Regions from separate parts of the Homo sapiens genome. Here region 2 is linked to region 1. Evidence: promoter capture Hi-C in human tissues and cell types (Jung and others, 2019). All regions are on one chromosome and are shown on one strand. Each heading gives the region's core, a stretch centred on a gene start or on the middle of the fragment in contact. The rest is flanking DNA. Distances are from core to core; before and after follow the strand shown. Region 1 holds the start of AJAP1 (adherens junctions associated protein 1). Region 2 has its middle 130 kb from the start of MIR4689.

The links. Contacts are between HindIII fragments. The study calls those that stand out against the background at their distance.
Region 2: a contact is called between a fragment that was not itself captured here and the fragment with the promoter of AJAP1 in region 1, in 1 of the 25 tissues and cell types used here (dorsolateral prefrontal cortex).

The regions. Positions count from the first base shown.
Region 1 is chr1:4,652,455-4,656,369 of GRCh38, reverse strand. It overlaps AJAP1 (adherens junctions associated protein 1), which reads right to left and starts at 1,761. Exons shown (of 6, transcript NM_018836.4): 1 at 916-1,761. The coding sequence starts at 944. RefSeq lists an enhancer at 3,721-3,770. The HindIII fragment of the contact is 14,001 bases long and covers 1-3,915 here.
Region 2 is chr1:5,726,064-5,729,876 of GRCh38, reverse strand. No RefSeq gene overlaps it. Among named protein-coding and RNA genes, the nearest start is that of MIR4689, 130 kb to the left of the region's middle. The HindIII fragment of the contact is 4,911 bases long and covers 39-3,813 here.

The DNA of each region.
Region 1 (3,915 bases), core at 512-3,011:
GAATGCCCCGGCAGGAGGGCGAGGGCTCAGAGGCAGCCTGCCCAGCAAAAACGACAGCTGTGCTCTGGTGGGCCCTGGGCCACCCCAGGCAGAAGCCAGAGAAGCCCGAGAACCCCGGCGGGCTGGCAAAGTTTGCCGAGAAGGGTCTTTCTGGACACCCCCACCACGGGCTCTAGGCTCGAACCCCCTCTTCCATCTGGCCCTGGAGTCCCAGACACAGACAAGCCCCGGGCGCGCCGGCGGGCGTATGTGCGTGTGTGTTTACAGCGGGGTGGCCGCCGGAGCTCCCCAAGAACCCCAGCTCTCCCGCCCCAGCTGCCCGCCAGCTGTGAGCGCCCGTCGGGCCCGGAGGTCACCCGCAAACAGCTGGGTCGGCAGCTGGGAGCCTGGGAGGCCCCTGCTCAGCCCCGGGGCCCCGAGAAAGGAGAAGGGGGAGCGGAGTGGCTGTTTGGCTGTGGTTTCCTCCAACTCCGCCTGCGAAGCTCTCGCTGGGAGCCCGGAGCTTTAGCTTTCCCCGGCAGCCCCGGCCCCCGCGCCCGCCGCGCCCAGCGGCCGGCGCCTCGCCCCGGGCCCCGGGGAGGAGGCGCGCCGGGGCAGCCGGCCAGGACACTGCGCTGCTGGCTCCTAGAGCTGCGGGCGCGCCTGGCCGGCCCCACTTCCCGGGTTGCTGGGGCGGGCGCCGCTGCCCCGACCCCGGACGCGCGGAACCCTGGAGACCCGGCCGCTCCCCGCCAGGGCCGCGGTGCTGCTCCAGGCTCCGGGCGGGCGCCCCTTTCCGGCTACCGGTGCACCCCGTTGCCCGCTTGCGGGAAGCGAAGAGGGGTCCCTTGATTTGCAACATAGAGGAAAGCGCCGCTTCCGCCCAGCCTGGCACCCACGCGCCCACACGCACCCGGCGCCGGCCGGGTCGCTCACCTGAGTCCTAAAAGCTGTTGAATCCACATGGTCACGTTTCGGGGAGCGGGGCCTCAGACCTGGCTCGCCCAGGCCATCTGCGCGGCGCCCGCGCCCGCTCGCTTCCGTCCCGCGGCGCCGGTCTCCGGCTCTCGGTCCGCCGCCTCCCGCCGCCCGCCGGCCGCGGGGCGCACAGCGAGTCAGAGCGCGGCCGCGCGGGGCTCCATGCCGGCCGGCGCGCCGCCGCCGTTGGGGCGCATGGCTCAGGCTGGGCGGCCCGCGGGGGCGCACATCCTCCGGCCGGGGCGCGGGGCTCGCGGCCCCCTCCGCCGGCGGCACAGCGAAGGCGGCAGCGAGGCGGGGCGTGTTCCGGCGCTGTCGCGGCGCAGCAAAGGGCTGGGGAGCCGCGGCTTCGCCCTCCGGGGCGGCGAGGAGGGAGGCCGGCGGCGCTGCCGCTCACGGTGCGTGTCTCCCGGCGCGCGGCTCTTGCCTCCAGCCGGAGCTCCGCGCCGATGGGGCGGCGCTGCTTAGGGTTTGGGGTGACGCGACGCGGACGGACGCGAGTCCCCTCCGCGCTGCCGGGTCGGGGGGCTCTGCCAGAGGCTCCGCCGCCGATCGGCGCCACTCAAGTTGCCCGGGGGCTCCGTCTGAGCGCTCGCTCTGCAGACGGCCGCGGCCCGGAGACTGGCAGGAGGCGGGCACGAGAGGCGCGCGGGGCGAGGGCGCCGTGGAGCGCGGGGCGTGGGGACGCGCGGCGGCGGCGCCGCGCGGAGGAGGCGCGCGGGGATCCCGGGGCCCCGCCGCCCGCGCCCACCGCGCCCGCCGCAGAGCCGCCCGCGCTGCTCAGCCGCCTCCCTCCTCGCGTCTGCCTCTCCGCGCGCTCGCCCCCGCCTCCCGGAGCCGGTCCCAACTCCGCCCGCCCGGCCCGGCTCACGTCACCCGCCTTCCCCGCCCCTCGAACGGGAGCTCGAGCCCCTGGCCTGGCCCCGGCTCCTGCTCGCCGCCCCACCTTGCGGGGGCCGGGGTCGCCGCGGGTGGTGGGGGGCGCTGTGCCCAGCAGGGGCGACAGCGCAGGCGGGGCCTCCTGCAGCCCCCTTCCCCATCCCCGGTCGCGTCCCGGTCCCCACCTTGCGAAAGGCTCGAGAGAGGCCGCAGGCTAGGATTGGACCGCCGGGCGCCGCCGGATGGTGTTGCCAGGGTAACCGGATGGCACGCGAAGCCGTTCGAGGTTCCGACCCGGTTACGGGGGCGCCCAGTGGACCCGGAGAGCTACTTTGGGGAGGGGGCGGCCCCGAAGAAGGACTGGGTGGGGGCGCATGGAGCGGGGGCTGCGCGAAAAGTTTCCTGGGGCGGAGCTGAGCCACGCGGGCCGCGCAGGAGCGTCTGTCCGAGGGTCGCCTACGAGGGACTCCTCTGCTCGGCTGCGCGGGCTTCTGCGTTGATGAAGTCACCGCGTTCCGGGTCGGAGCTTCGGCGCTTCTGCCCCGAACCCAGCGAAGCCCGGTCCTATGCCCCCAATTACCCAACGGTCCCTCATCGCCCAGCGCAGCTGCTGCCTGGCCAGGCCCTTGCTCCGGAGGAGTCACTGGAAAGTTCCAGGGAATCTGGGCCTCCCGGACTCTCCACCGGCGTTTCACTGCTCCCTTCCCATGCCAGGACTCCTCTGTGCCTACCTGGTTAGTCTGTATTTGCAAAAAACAAACAAAAACAACAACAAAAAACAAATGGGGGGCACTTAAAGGAGGACAGACGCTGGGCGGGGACCTTTCACTGAGAGAAGTGACATGGGGCGGAATCCTCTGCAGACCCGCTGACGCCTTGAGAAACCACGGCAAAACCCTGCTTTTAATCCTCCACAGGCTGAGGGCAGTGCAGAATCCGGGCCTTGGAAAGGACACTGGTGCCACCCTTCACTGGGGAAAGGTGCAAGGGGCGGGGGATATACCATGCCGAGCCTTCGCTCTGTGCTCTGTGCAGGTGCTTGACCCAGGCCAGCTCTGGAATCGCCCCAGGCCATGTGAGAGCCGTGGGGGGTGAGAGGGGCGGGAAGCACTTCACAGGTGAGGCCTCCCTGGGAGGGGCAGCCAGTGAGGGGGTGGAAGGGCAGAGCCAGGAGGACCATGGCTTGGGGCTCAGTCTCCCAGGCGAACCATAGCTTGGGGCTTAAGTCCCCCAAGCAGCCCTTTCACCCCCAGGCCTCCAGGATCTTTGCCAACGGTCTTGAGGAGCCAGGCACAGGATTGGACTCTGCCCGGGCAGGAGGATGAAGACAGTGACTTCCCCACCAAGACTCCCGGCAGAGGGCCAGAGGCAGGGAAGTGTGGTGGCAGGAGGGCCAGCCTTGCCGTGGCTGGACCAGGGGCCAGCGCTTGCTAACTCGGGGTCCTGGCCGAGTTGTGTGGCCTCTCCGACCCTCGGTCTCCTCATCTGTAAGATGGGTCCCACAGCCCCTCCCCGGGGAGGTGTTTGCAGGGCTCCATGAGAAGGCCTTACACACACTGTGGCTATGGTGATCTGTGAGCCGGTCAGAGGACCCGAGAGGCAGCAGGGTGACTCAGCAGTTTCCCTGCCGGGCCGCCCCTGGGTCATCGTCCCCTAGAGCCTCTCCCTGAGGGGTGTGAGGGAGCGGATCCCATTAAGAGGCGAAGGAGGCAGGGAGGTCCTGGAACCAGCGGGGCCTATGGCGGCCGGCGGGGAAGGAGGCGCCGGCAGTGCTGCCACCTAGCGGTGTGAGGAGGCGGTGCTGCACCAGGGAGGCCCTTCCTGCAACCGGAGTGGGCCTGGAAGGGGCCGGCTTCGCACACTAGGAGCCAGCAGGGCAGGGAGGGGCTCCGGACCGGACCGTGTCGGCTCCAGGAACCCCTTGGGCAGCCTTGTGGACACCTGCTGACCTCTCTCAGAATGGCTTCTAAGTGCATAGATGAAAAAGCCCAGGATTATTAGGAAACCAATTCTATGCAAATGCATTATCAAAAGAGTAATAAAAACAAATTTCTGATATAGCCGTATATATTATTTATT
Region 2 (3,813 bases), core at 1,245-3,744, 1.1 Mb before region 1:
GAGATGGGGACTTGATGGGAGCGTAGACCCCATGTCTCTCTCTGAAGATGTGACTCTGTAGGTCAGTGGAGGAGCCCAGCAGTTCCTTCTGATGCAGATGGTCCCCTGATCACAGCCTGGGAAACATGTGGTGCTGGAGTCCATTGAGATTGAATCCTAGCCTGCCATTGTGACTGTGTGGGCTTGGGCAAGCACCAATAATTGTGGACTGTCTGTGATTTCACCCTATTTTCAAGCTAACAGGTGAGCCTGCCACCCTTCCCTTGATGCTGGCAGAAGACATGAAATTCCTGGGGCAGAGACAGCTGTTGTTGTTACTTGCCACCCAGCAGGCAGCCCAAGTTTCATGGTCCTCATGGATCCCCTCTGCCTCTAAACCCCATGGCTGTGATACTGAGAGGCCCAGGTGGATGCTGCATATGTAGGGGGTCTGTGTCCCAGCCAAGGACCCCATCTGAGGGAACCCTGTCTTGCTGAGTGGACTACAAGCACACCTGCCTGGCCTTTGCCCTTGAGGGGGACATTATCTTTATTACACTGGAGTCCAAACAAGCCTGCCTCTGCCCTGGAGGGAGAGAGCCTCTATCTTCCAAGGTTGTTCACTATTCAAACATTCCTGGAAAGATAGTCCGGAGCAAACACTATAGATGGCTATATCCAAGATGAGCAGAACCACCAGAGACCCAGAAGACTGTGTCTCAGGAGCAAGTGACTCAGCCCTGCTGAGCTTCTTCCTTTGTCTGTAGGAGGGGACACAATAGTGGTGTCCACCCCAGAAGGCCACTCCATTACCTCCTCCATTACCCCCTCTAGTCCCTGCCCCACCCCCTTGCCCATCCAGGGGTGGGGATGGGGAGGCGGGGGGAGGAGCAGGGCTTTGCAGACTTGGGCGATTCCATCAATTTATTGTCCTTTTGTAAACCCTGCTGCTTGTTTGGGGCTGGCTGCTCCTTCTAGCCCTGGTGAGCCAGGGCCCCTGCTTCTGGTGCTGCACCCTGGCCTCCTGAGGTGCCCCTGGCTCACAAGGCCTTCTCCAGGGAGGTGTGACAGATGACTACGGAGTGACCCTCCCAGCTGCTCACAATGCTGACAGCCGAGAGACTCTCAGAAATCCCTTTTCTGTTTCATTGTCTATCACTTATGTACAGCAATCTAAATTTCTAGCTGTTAATGAAAGATTATAGATGTGTTAAAAATATCCCCAAAAACCTCTCTTCTTTGCACTTGGATTGTTAATGAAATTCCCAAGCTTCATTTTCAGGTTTTAATGAACAGCACAGGGTACTTCATTGACATATTGGCCTTGCGTGTAGTACCCTCCCTCGGCCCCTCTCGGGGGAAGCTCTTAGAACAGGTGTCTGAGTGGAGGGTCCCAAGGTCCCGACACGGCTGATGGGCTCCCACGAGCCTCCTCTGGAGGGTGACAGGGGTTGCTTTGCAGGCGCTGCTGCCAGGTAGGGACTCGGAGAGACACTTGTCCTCATCAGAGTTTGTGCGTTCTTGGTGATCGGGTCCGTGTCCTTAGGGGCTGGGGTTGCAGGCCGGCAATGCCAGGAGCATTTTGTCAGCCTTCTGGTGCCACACTTGCAGTCTGGGGAACTGCTGCCACCTGAGCTGTGCTTCCTGGCTGAGGACATTGTGCAAACAATAGCTTCCCTTAGGCAGGGAGCCATTCAGTGCAGATCATGGTGCCTGCGCTTTCTCTATGAAATTAGAATGAACATAGAAGTAACAAAGCAATAGTATCAGCTTCAGCTCATTTCAGCTCCATGAACCTTTGCAGAGCACCTATGATGTGCTGGGCACCTTGCCGAGTGCCTGGGATCTGAAGAGCCTCGTGGCAAGACGTGGGTGGGTTTAGCTTCTAAGGTCTACATAGGTTAAAAAAAAATTGCATACTAAAAATCACTCTGAACTTGCTGCCAGATCTCGATGTGGGCCCTTGGAAGTGCAGGGCCTGAGGATCTCCTCTTTCATTCCTCTGTGTATTCCAGCTGTGGCTTCCCTGCTGAAGTGTCCTTCACACTGGACAACGTCTAGTTTGGACAGGAGTCACGGCTGTGAGGGAAGCTAATACAGAGATTGCTATTATTTTCCCCACTCTGCAGCCCCGATCCTATGCAGTTGAGTTCTTAGAAGTTACATTTCCATATAAGGCTAATGGCTTATCCAGGCAGCAAAGTTAAGGAGAGAGCGGGGAGAGTTAGCATAGGTTTAAGTGCCCTGCAGGAGGAGACAGTTTGGGAGGGGGAGTTAGAATGAAGATTCAGGGTCTTGCAGAGAGAGGGCAGCTAGAAACAGCTTCTGGGGTACACAGAGAGGCATTTGGCCCCCCACCTTGGGGCTTGGGAAGACTTCCAGGAGGAGATGGCATGCTGCTTCCTAAGGGCCATACTTCCTATTTAGGAAGATAATGAATATATTTGGAGCAAGAATGAAAGGAAGTAAACATCTAGGTACATGTGAGTACCTTGTCTGCTGTACATGAACACCAGACTGTGAACACTGTGTCCTCAGTGCCTAGCAAAACACAATTGCCTAATAAATATTTGTGGAATGAGTGAAAGACCATTAATTATTTTCTACTTTGAAAAGAAGACTTTAACTCTCCTCTCCTGAATCCAGTGGTTCTTTTTTTTAATTTTATTATTATTATACTTTAAGTTTTAGGGTATATGTGCACAATGTGCAGATTAGTTACATATGTATACATGTGCCATGCTGGTGTGCTGCACCCATTAACTCGTCATTTAGCATTAGGTATATCTCCTAAAGCTATCCCTCCCCCCTCCCCCCACCCCACAACAGTCCCCAGAGTGTGATGTTCCCCTTCCTGTGTCCATGTGTTCGCATTGTTCAATTCCACCTATGAGTGAGAATATGCGGTGTCAGCATCTGGGGTGTCGTAGCTACCAGGAAAAAACTCAGCAGAGGCAGCTGCAGGAGCAAGGGGCAGGGGAACACAGAGACTGTCTGCTGGGGGCTCCTGAGCCTGGCCATGGCTGCGTGCCGGCCTCCTGGCCTGCAGCAAGGCTGCAGGTGAGCAGAAAAGTGAGATTGACTGCCACTGCGCAGCTGCCCACCACAGGTCCAGCCCAAAGCCTCTCACACCCTAAGCACCATATTTTGCCCCATCACCCCGGGGGACATCTGGCAATACTTGGAGACATTTTGGTTGTTACAAGGGGTAGGCTTCGGGGTTAGGGGTGAGAGATGTTGTTAAACATTCTACCATGCACAGGTGGCCCACCCCGGCCACCTGACACGAAAGAGATTTGTCCCGCCCGAGATATCAATAGTGACGAGGCTGAGGATGCTGCACCAATGCTGCTTGGGGTGTCAAAGGCTTTGGGCTGGACCCGTGGTGGGCAGCTGCGCAGTGGCAGCCAATCTCAATTTTCTGCTCACCTGGAGCCTTGCTGCAGGCCAGGAGGCCGGCACGCAGCCACGGCCAGGCTCAGGAGCCCCCAGCAGACAGTCTCTGTGTTCCCCTGCCCCTTGCTCCTGCAGCTGCCTCTGCTGGGTTTTTTCCTGATAGCCCTGACACCCCAGATGCTGACAGACTGCAGGGAGGCCCCGCCATGCCTGGCTGGCTAGGGACCCCATCCTGGGCGCTGAGAATTCAGCGCTTGGCCTCAGAAAGCAGCCTGCTCCTTTTTCTCTCACATTTCCAGGATGCAGCCTGGCCTGAGGCCCTAGGAGTAGGGGAGGGCAGGGTAATCTGCAGGGCAAAGCGTTCAAGTCCCACTCTGCTTACGCTCTTTTGGTTGTTGCCCAGCACAGATGATCAAGTCCAGGGTGGCCACACTCAGG